2 separate regions of the Homo sapiens genome follow, and region 1 is linked to region 2. The links are contacts of gene promoters, found by promoter capture Hi-C in blood cells and fetal thymus (Javierre and others, 2016). All regions are on one chromosome and are shown on one strand. Each heading gives the region's core, a stretch centred on a gene start or on the middle of the fragment in contact. The rest is flanking DNA. Distances are from core to core; before and after follow the strand shown. Region 1 overlaps ASAP2 (ArfGAP with SH3 domain, ankyrin repeat and PH domain 2). Region 2 holds the start of ASAP2 (ArfGAP with SH3 domain, ankyrin repeat and PH domain 2).

Evidence for each region. Contacts are between HindIII fragments. The CHiCAGO score rates a contact against its expected background, and 5 or more counts as called.
Region 1: a contact is called between a fragment that was not itself captured here and the fragment with the promoter of ASAP2 in region 2, in 2 of 17 cell types (endothelial precursors and megakaryocytes). The highest score is 7.0, in endothelial precursors.

What each region holds. Positions count from the first base shown.
Region 1 is chr2:9,294,763-9,300,116 of GRCh38, reverse strand. ASAP2 (ArfGAP with SH3 domain, ankyrin repeat and PH domain 2) reads right to left here. Exons shown (of 28, transcript NM_003887.3): 3 at 2,672-2,817. Among named protein-coding and RNA genes, the nearest start is that of ASAP2, 91 kb to the right of the region's middle. RefSeq lists an enhancer at 1-465. The HindIII fragment of the contact is 1,474 bases long and covers 855-2,328 here.
Region 2 is chr2:9,203,240-9,208,697 of GRCh38, reverse strand. ASAP2 (ArfGAP with SH3 domain, ankyrin repeat and PH domain 2) reads right to left here and starts at 1,886. Exons shown (of 28, transcript NM_003887.3): 1 at 1,468-1,886. The coding sequence starts at 1,593. RefSeq lists enhancers at 874-1,804, 1,805-2,737 and silencers at 2,167-2,350, 2,097-2,356. The HindIII fragment of the contact is 2,916 bases long and covers 682-3,597 here.

The DNA.
Region 1 (5,354 bases), core at 342-2,841, 92 kb before region 2:
GGACTACAGCCGTGAGCCACCACGCCTGGCTAAGTTTTGTATTTTTTTGTAGAAACAGGGGTTCCCCATGTTGCCCAGGCTGGTCTTGAACTCCTGGGTTCAAAGCAACCCGCCCACCTTGGCCTCCCAAAGTGCTGGGATGACACATGTGAGCCACTGTGCCGGGCCAGATATTAGCTCTTCAAACCATTCAGGGCCTCAGTTATCTAATCTGTAAAGTGGGGATGACATTGACTGACCTTATGGGATTGTCATAAGAATTAAGTAAGCTATCCTGTGTAAGAGTCACCGGCTGGCTATAATCTATCCACACAATCAGGTATGGTATTATTATCTCCATGTTACAGCTGAGACAATCCAGGTCTAGATATCAGCTGAATAAAGGTAAAAGGGCAGTCTGGGAGTGAGAAGCAGAACCCGGGCCTCCACCCGTCTCCTACGTCGTCAGCCGTCCTGGGCTGGCTGCTTTCTAGGCCCCCTGCTTGGCAGCCCCGCTGGGACTTCCCTTCGCCATGATCCTCTTGGAATTCCCTTCCACTGCTTGCTTTCCTGTGTTGGGTCCTGTTTCCTGACTCTCAATTTCTTCTTTCTTGGCTTTTCCCTTCATTTTACTAAAACACATCCTTTAGGAGTTTCAGAGAAATGACACATGGGAGCCAAAGTTTTTAAGCCTTGCATGTCTGAAAATATCTTTAATTCTACTCTCGTCTTTGATTGGCTGGGCATCATTCCAGGCTGAGTTAGTTTCCTCACGATTTTAATGGCATTGCTCCATGCCATAACGTTTCCAGTGCTGCTGCTGAGAAGTTCACCACCATTCTGATTCTGAATCCTCCGGCTGCTGTCTGGAAGCTTTTAAGATCTTTTGCAAGTTCACACAGGGATGCCTCAGGGTAGGTCTTTTCCCTTATTGCGCTGGGTACTTGTGAGCCTCTCAACTTGGAGACTCTTCCGTTCCATTTTTAGAAATTGCCTTTAGATTTGTTGCATTGATGACAACCTTCTCTCTTTCTAAAACACCTGCCAGTTGGATGCTGGGCCTTGAGAATTAATCCTCGTCTTTTATCTATTTCCCACTTTTTGGTCTTTTTGATCTATTTTCTGAGAGATTTCCTCTACTCCAGCCCTTCCTGTTGGATTTTTAATGTTATATTTTCTTACCATAGTTGTGTCCCTGGCCTTCTTTCATAGCATGCTGCATCCCAGTCTTCCCGTACGTTCATTTTTCTGCTATTTCTGGTCTCCCTCATGCTGGAGGCTGCTCATCTGTACTGAAGTGTGAGGCACCAGGAAGCTAACAGGCAGCTCTGTGTGCATGGAAAGGGCTTATCCACCCAGGTGCGGGGAGAGCAGGCAGCCAACTGACTTTTCTACCAGGAGACGCCCTCCATGGCAGCATCTACGGATCTTTACCCTGGGCCCATGCAGTTTCTCCAGTTTAAAAAAAATCTCCACTCTTTCCCGACCTGGTGATGAGACCCCACCATGCATGCCTGCCAGTGTCCAGGGCATGGGGCTGAGGCAGGGCGAGGGCTCCACTGCTGAGCAGGTGGGCCGCCACTCTAGGATAAGGATGAAGGGGGATGAGCTTGACCAAAGCCCCAGGGGATTTCAAATTCCTCTAAGTGAAAAGCTCGAGCAGAGAAACAGTTTTTTACTTTTACCATTTCCTACAGAAATGTTCATAAGTGAAGACGGGGAGAAAGAGCAAGGGCCCGAGTGCTCCTGCTCTTCCCCTTCCCATTAGGAACTCACATGTGATGCTCCCTCATTTCTCCCCTTCTAAGGCCGGTCTCCCAAAACCACTGTCATCACCATCTCAGGAATGAGCTATGTTTTTCACTTGTTATGAGCTTCCTAACAGAGGACACGAAAAAGATGCTGTTGTGTGTGGCCTACAGAGAAAGCATTACTGAGTTCTTGACCTGGCCTTCCCTGACCTTTAGGAGAAACTGGAGAAGAAAAACAGGAAAGAAAAGCTGGAGCGATCCCAGGGTCCATTCCACCCGGGCAGGGTCCCAAACAGCCCTCTTGGGCTGCCCACTTCTTCAAAATGTTGTCCCCATCACGAGGATAGCACAGAGCTGCCAGGCACAAGAAAGGCGCAATTCACCCACAGCACCAAGCAGCAGCCACAGGCAGCAGGCACCAGCACCGCATTCCCACGGCTGAAAACCGAGGCATTGCTCTCAGTCCTGCTTTTTTTTAGGTTCTACACTTGGGAGCACAAAAGGCCTTTAAATATTCATGGTAATTTCTGTGCTTTGATTACAGGTTACCTTGCTGTGTAAGATGGGCCTGAAACATATTTATTAAATATTATAAGCTTAAATGCCTACTATAATTACCAGAAGGAGAGTAGTCTACACAGTTTAGAAACTGTTAAAAATTCAAGTCAGAGGCCCTTAAGAAGACGAATGCATTTACCCATTTTGTCCCATAGCTGTGTACATTTAAATTGCAGAGCTGAATTTTAAGTCTTGTTAAAGTAAAAATTACAATTTTAAACTTTATTCCAAACTGACCCAATGTGTATAAAAACATAATTCTTTTGGGTACCCAAGGAACTATGAAATGCATTCCTAGTTTATCAAACAAACCATAACTATCCTCTACTGAGCCACTTTCCCAACTGAAGTAACCGCAGCATTTCATACACAGAGCTGCTTACCAGGTTTTTGAAAAGTGCTGTCAACTCCTTTGTAAACACTGAGAACTTCAGGAACGCACTTCCTAAATCTGGGTCATCTCTGCATACACAGTTGCCGCCAAACTTCTCCAGAGCCTGGGTGTACTGCTCTTCATTTTCCACGTGAGCTGCAACAGAATGACGGAGGTGCTGTGAGTCTCAGGCATGCCACCCTCACTCCCCACCAGGTTCTTCTCGGTTGTGAATAACACTGAACACATCAGCAGAAGAAAAATCTGAGAAAAGTCAAGCTGCACCAGGAACAGAAATAGCTTCGTTATCCCAACAACAACCCGTGGTGCCGGCAACAGATCCCAAAGAACAAGTGTGGTATGCAAGAGGGGAAGCCCTTGCCCACGTCCAGTGGTCCTCAGCATATCAGATGAGATGGCCAAGGACACACAACATTTCCACCTCTCCGAGGACTCTTCCTTCACCAAATGATGGCACAACTCACCAGACTCAGCCCCCTCCCAGAAACTCAACCACAGATGCCCCATTCCTCTCTAGCCTGCAGCCCAGGACTCTGATTCAGAGCCCCACACAGCAGCTCCTTCTCCTTTTAATACAGCAACAGCAGTGGTCTTTGCAGCTCCAGTGCCTCTGCTCAGGATGCAGCCTCTACCCAGGGGCCCTTCCCTCCCAAACTCCTCTGCATCCTACAGACTCATGCTTCCTCCAGGAAGCCTTCCATGACTCTGCCCTACACCCTGGGTATTTCATTGGCACCTCTCCTATCCTTGCACTCAGCATGTTATATTGAAATAGTCTGGCAAATGTGTTCCCCATACATCGGATGTGCTTAGAGTTGACAGACTAAGTTGTATTCATCTTCGACGAAGTCGTGTGCCTGAAATATTAGACAACACACATGTTGTTTGAGCAGAAAAAACATACCAGGTGCTTACATCTCATGGCATTTTACTATCATTAGGCCTCAAAGTAGCACCTGAAAGAGTGAAAATCTGGACTCTGGGTCTCTGGCACAGTGGTTCTCAATCCCTGCTGGACGCCAAATGCATGCATGGATTTTCACCAAACTCTAGACACCACCGTCCCATCTCAGACCTCTGATTTAAACCGTGGGTAGGAATGGGGGAGGGGACACAGGTGATTCTGGTAAATTAATGTGGTTGAATATAATTCCCTCACTTCTAGGTCAGGCACTTTCAAAGGAAACCAGCCAGTCTATAATAAAACAACTTCTATCTGCATGGCTACCTAATTTCTATGTTTTCATCAGTTCAACTGGAAATATAACACAACTATTTACAGGCACAACAGGGCAGCCAGACCTGCGGTGTGAACCTGGATGTGAACTCCACCAGAGACAGCCTTAGTGCTGCAGCTCCTCCACCAAGGGACAGATCCTGAAAGCCCCTCTGTAGCTCCCGAATTCCTTCTCGGGGAAATGAGACCACTGTCAGCTAACGCCAATGGCTAGGCTGGGCCTGACAATGTGGGAAAACGAGGGAACATTTGTTCCTGGAGGGCAGTCCTGGACCCTGAGCCAATCCCTATGACCTATGAATGGTCTGCTCACCCATCCTATGGGGGAAGCACCATGTCTTTGACCTCCAGTGGCATTTGGGGGACTAGAGGGTTCTAATGGGGATCTAGCAGACACAAAAGAAAACTCACTTCACTGTTTGAGTCCTTTTTCTTTTTTAACATTCCAGTAAAGAGCCTGAGAGTTCTAGATAAATTAAATGAATTTCTGAGACCAGATTCAGCAAACAAATTCTGACAGAAACATACATGTGCACACACACACACCCGCAAACGCAGCTCCTCAGGAGCCCTCAGAAGATCTAGGTTCCAGTCCTATGTCCACCTGTAAATATCTGTATGACCTTGGTAAGTCACAGTGACGCTGGGCCTGCGGCGTCAGCTACATAAAGGATAAAAACCTGCTGGGAGATGCTCTCAAGGTCAGAGGAAGAATGAAAGAATCAGGTAAAGAGACTCAGTTTACCACACTTGGCGCATAACCAATAACACTAACAAAAGTAACAGCAGCAACAGGCGTCACTTATTCAAAGCACAAACTTCACATATATTTTTTCTAAACTTCGTAAGACATGTATTATTTCTCATAACACTATTAGGCAATTAGGGCTCAAAGAGATCAAATAATTCATCCAAGGAAACACAGAAAGTGGCAGAGCTGGGATTCAAACCCAAATTTTCTGATTCCAAAGTCCACTCTCCTACTCTACTACACGATGTTTGTTTTCATCGTTAAAAAGTTTACCTTGTCAAACAAAAGTATCTAATTTTTAGATTTTTAAAATCCAGTTTCACAGATGGATCAATAATTCCTTCTGTTTTACTCTATTTATAATTCTAGAGTGTGGTTAACAGTGAAGGATAGGTCCTTTCAAACCACATACTATTTTTAAACTATCTCAAAATTAGCGGTCAAGACATGGGCAGTTTAGTTTCATTGGGTTCAGGAAGGGGGCTGGTGGCCACAGGCAGGCATCTGTCACTACACACTGTCTACTGCATGACAGAAACAGGAACGCAACCTCCATGGTCCTGCTTACTCCCTCGCTCGCTGCTTTCTGAGCCATGGGTCTTTCAAGAGATGACAAAGGAGGGGAGCTGGGCCGTGGTGTCCTCCTTCACGGTGCTGGGCAATGAATGCAAAGCCCAGCAGGAG
Region 2 (5,458 bases), core at 637-3,136:
TGTAAGCCTTGCTGCTAAAAGTAGAATTAAGTGATCTGGGGAATCACCGAATTCATAGGAAAGGTTTACATGCAGCTCTCTTCCGCCAAATTAAATGGAGAGAAGGAAGGCTACCCAAGTTATATTAACAGGATTCAGAATGCTGAATGTTACTTTTGACTCCCTTTTATTGACTGTTTACAGCTACAAAGAAAAAATTTTTCCATTAAGGGAAAACATTCTGGATTTTTTTTCAAGCAATTCCTAATAGCAGATGCTTTGTTCAAATGGGAAAAAAAAAAAAAAACCAGAAAAAAAAAATAACGCCATTGCTTCATTTAAAGCTCTTTGGTGACACCCACCCCCCCACCCACACACACACTCCTGCTAGCCCAGGCGTCTTCTGCTAAAACACCTGCAATACCCAATTTTAAAACTGTAACCTGACATCCTGGCCCAGAGACATTTAATCACAGATTCACTATTGCCACACGTGTGACTTGTAAACCTATTCTGAGCCGAGCAGAGTGCTAAGCACTTCACACAGTCTCTGATCCTGGAAAGGATGCATTACTAATCCCGTTTGATGGGTAAGGAAAAGGAGGACTGCAGGTGAGGATGTGCCTCAAACCACAGCCAACGGTGGCCCCTGGACTCACAGACTCTGCCCCTTTCCCCACGGCTTTAATTTTCAACCAAGCTTCTTCGTTCCTACGTGTTCCTCTCCCCAGGACCTGGAGAGCGTACTGCTTAGCAGCTAGGCGTGATGACTTTGCACCTTGAGAGCACTTTACTAAAACCAGGCCTTTTCCAGGTTGAGGGGGAAGGGCGGCATTCCGGGTTCAAGCAGGTGAGACCCAGGTAACCGGGGAGCGGCTCCTGGAGGCTTCTTGGACCCAGAAGCGCCGACTCTCACACACCTTGCCCGCAGTTCCTTCTCCGGGCACGGGTGGAGCGCAGCCAGGCCGCCCTGGCTGAGGCGGGCACGCCTTCCCGGGCAGCCCGGGATGCCCCGGACCCGCGGACCCGAGGGTGGGGGCCCTGCGGCGCTCGGGGGCTGCGGCGGGGAGCTCGGAGCGCGGAGCTGCCCCCGCCGGTCCACTTCAAGAACAAGTTGATAAGGTCCGCACCGGGTACCAAAGACCCCGGGCGGCGGCGGGCGGCGGCGGGCAGCGGGATCCCCCGCTCGCCGCGGACCCCGACTCTGGACAAAGTTGGCCGCGCTGCGGGGAAAAGACCAGGCCGCGGAACCCCGCGAGGGCCACGAGGCCGAGAGAGGGGAGGTCTTAAAGAGGCCCAAGGTGGCCATCACCCATCTCCTCCGAGCCACCTAGGCGGGAACAAAGGGCTTCTGTCTCGGGCAGGGTTGGCCCGGCCGCGTCCGGCTTCGGAGCAAAGAAAGTTTTCTCGGGATGCGGATGCGGGAGCGGCGGGCGGGGCTGGGGCGCGGGATACCTGCGGCCGGAGCCGCCGCGCAGGCCGCCTCACCTCCTCGATGGCCGCCACAGTGTTCCGGCACTGCGCCGTGCGGGTGGTGAAGCTGGAGGCCGTGGGCGCCTTGTAGTCCTCATGGGTCTCGGCCACGAATTCCGACACGGAGATCTGGTCCGGCATCGCCTCGGCGCGAGGGCGCTGGCGCACAGCCGCAGGGGCGCCGCCGCCTCAACTGCCGCAGCAGGCTCCGACCGCCGCTCGGACACCGCCGCTGCCGCCGCCGCTCCGGCCCGCGGACAAAGGGGAGCGCCGGGCGCGGGAGCCGCGCGGGGCCTGGCGGCGGAGCAGGGGCGGCGCGCAGCCCCGCGCAGCTCGGCCGGTCCGCCCGCCTGCGCGCCGAGGGCTCCGAGTCCGCTGCCGCCGCGTCCTCTCAGAGCGAGCCCCGAGGCGGGCGCGCACAGCCGGCGGGAACTACCCGCCACCCAGCCGCGGGCCCCGACGCCTCCCGCGGAGAGGGGCGGGTCCGGGCCGGGGGCGGCGGCCGGCCGGGCGTGGGGCGGGGCGGCGGGAGGACCGGGCCGCCAATCGGCGCGCTCGCCGCTGCCGCGCCGCCGGGAAGCGGATCCCGCAGGAAGGAAGGCGGCGCGCGCCCCGGCCCGCCGAGCCGTTCCTGGCCGCCGCGCGCCGCATTGTCTCGGCGTTCCGGGCCCCGCGCGCCGCGCCCATGCCCCGCCCCCAGCCGGCCCGAGGCCCCGACTCCGACCCGCTGCCCGCGAGGGTGCGTGTGGAGGTGCGCCCCGCCGGAGTCCGGCCTTGTGCGCGCCAACCGCCCCCCGCCCACGGCGCGGAGCACCTCTGGGCTCCCCACTTGAACGGCGGGCCGCGCCGGCCCATGAGGAAAGCGGGGTGCGGAGCTCGCCCCCTGCCGGAGGATGCGCTCCGCCGGCGGGCACCCTGCGGGGACCACAGCCGGACGCCAGAAGTGACCTGACCGTGAATGTGCGCTTTGCGTGCAGTCATTGCATCGTCGCAGGCCTAGGAGACAGATGAAGAGATGGGTGCTTATTTTATATAGGGGACACAGTGTGCCCAAGAGCACAAGATAAACGGCCGGGTGGGGATTCAAACCCATGTTCCCTGACTCAAGTGTGAGTGCTTCAGAGCGGTGAGGGGCCCCTACTAAAAGTCCCAGTCGCGTTTCCTAGGCTGCCCAATGATAGGTATTCTCGGTTATAGTTTTAGGGTACTAGGCCAGGACCCACCCTGGGAAGGCTGCTGAACGCCCTGAAGTGGTATTCCCGCAGGCAGAGGAGGGAACCGAGGGGGTGCAGGAGGAGGAGGAGGGGGAGAACGTGCTACAGCAGCCAGCCAACCTCACACAAAACCGGGCCAGTAAAGGGTTCGAACTGGTACCGATTTTTATTTACAGCTCTTAAGGAAATTCTCGGTTATACTGAAAAATCCAGAAGCTCTGAAGATACCAGTCAAATAAAATCACACCCTATAACTCTACACCAGACTTGTGGCATGGTTTCTGTAGCTGCCAGCGGTAAAACCAAGAGAAACTTTACAAAAACCTTTTGTGCATCTGAAAAGGAGGAAGTGTGAGAGACACTGGAAATTCAATATGTCAGACAAAGCCGTCTCCTGACACTGCAGGACAGTAGACCAGTCAAACAATCTTTTTAAAGCCCCCATGTAAGAAGTTGCTATATGAGGTGGCAGCTTGGGTCAGACATTATGTATGGCCTTTGGTATTTTAGTAGCACTGCATGTAAAATTTAACTTTCTAAAATCGCTGTATTCGTGGATAGCTTTTATCATTGCACTAGACAACAAGTTACAATTTAAAAATTGTATCTGTTTCTTTTTATGTTTTTTGATCCTTTTGGTGTCTGAAGTTTTCCTCTATTTGCAACCTTCTACAATTCATGTTTTGTGTTTATTATTTATATTAATACATCCTCTCCAACACCAGGCAGATTCTGTTCCCGCCTACCTAGTTTCCCAGCTACAGTTTTTGACATGAGGGAATATGCTGAATAACTTTTCAAGTCTTGATTTGTAGAGGGCTGGTCTCTATGAGGCTATGAGGGATCTAAGAAAGAAAGTCGGGTTTTTCCTTGATGTCTAGTACAGCATTAACCAGACTAATCAATACTTCTACAAGGACAAAGTTAAGCTTGGTATTCTCTGTTCTCTCTTTATATACAACTCCGGTTCTTGTTTCTTTTAGTTTAATTTTGCAGATACAGGAAGCTTTAGTAGCCTCAAAAAAATAAAATTGCAAAGCTGTGTTGCATTGCAAGGCTGGTGGAAAACAACAATTAGTTACCAAGTTCATTGGTGGCCTAAAGAGGATACCAAATTGGTAGAATGCTAGAGCCATTTATTCCTCCATCATCCCTTAGAAATCTAACTTGCCTACTGCATAAGCCTAGAATTAAAGCAAGACCAGAGCAAAACATAGCTAATGCCTTTCTGAGATTAATATAAGAATGAGTAGCTTCCAATAAATAACAATAAAATTAAAGTTCAACATGGATCAAGGAAACACTCTACACATACTCATTTTTTTAAATGCATCAAGAGAAGAAGAGTATGCTGGTAATGTCCTTACAGGCCTATACTTCCTTAACCAGAATTACTAAAAATCCCTGAAAATGTAGCTTTACAAATAGTTCTTAATAGTAAAATTCATCTGAAATGAACTGATGTGAGGCTATGTGTGGTCTTGTTTATCCTACCTCATGTGAATATGTATGTTTTGCTGCAAAATATAAACATGGTTGATTATGAAGTATTGCCCCAGACCCTACTGGGGGTAATTAGGAATATGTTATTATATGCAATGTGTTACCTTTCTAAAATCCGAAAATTTCTGAATCCACACATATCTGGCCCTTGGGGTTTCAGTAAGAGATTGTAGGCCTGTATTATTTTTTTTTAAAAAAAAAGGCGAAGAAAAAGGAGGAAGGAAGAAGGAGAAGGAAAGGAAGAGGAAAAGGAGAGAACGAAAACGTGATGTTAAAGACATCGTTTCCAGAGAAGAGACTCTCCTCCCAAAAATGAAATTTTTAGCGGCCCAGTGAGATTGGCCAACAGCCCATTTTCCAAAGGAATCTTCTGCCTCTAGTAGTTCACAAGAACCTGGGATTTATCACTCTCAGATCAAGGTGTAAAATATGTTCTTGACTCTGAAATTTGCTTGAGGGTTGGCTGGTTTACACAAGACTTGTCCAGTTCACTTGCTATTAACTTGTAAATGATTACTCTTGGAATGGGCAAATATGTGCTTTGAAAGAACTATGGTAAGAAATAGTAACAACAACCTAAAAACCCTGGTGATGTGAACATGGAAGTATAACTGAAAGTTTCTTTTCGTAACTTAATAATACTCTGCCCAAAATCGTGTTGCTGAAGGGACCCATTTATCCCCAAAGTGAGAGAAGATTGAGTACATTTACCACAGTTATCTCACTTTAGCACCCAGAAACTATTTTACAAATGAAAACTTGGGTTTTGGTAATAAATTGCTTCTCTGTGATAAGTAAGCTAGCCTCCCTAGGCCGGGCGCAGTGGCTCACTCCTGTAATCCCAGCACTTTGGGAGGCCGAGGCGGGCGGATCACGAGGTCAGGAGATCGAGACCATCCTGGCTAACACGGTGAAACCCCGTCTCTACTAAAAATCCAAAAAATTAGCCGGGCTTGGTGGTGGGCACCTGTAGTCCCAGCTACTCAGGAGGCTGAGGCAGGAGAATGGCCTAAACCCAGGAGGCGGAGCTTGCAGTGAGCTGAGATCCGGCCACTGCACTCCAACCTGGGCGACAGAGCGAGACTCTGTCTCAAAAAAAAAAAAAAAGAAAAAGAAATAAAGCTAGCCTCCCTAAAGAGTGTAGCTTGGACTAGCTAATTTCTAAGGCGCCTCCCCGTCCTGGTGTCCTGGTGTTCGTGCTGCCATTTTCTGTGTTTTATGTTAGTTTAGACACAAGAGAGAAAAATGCCACAAAGCATTGCTAAACATTAGTACTGAGACTCTAATTA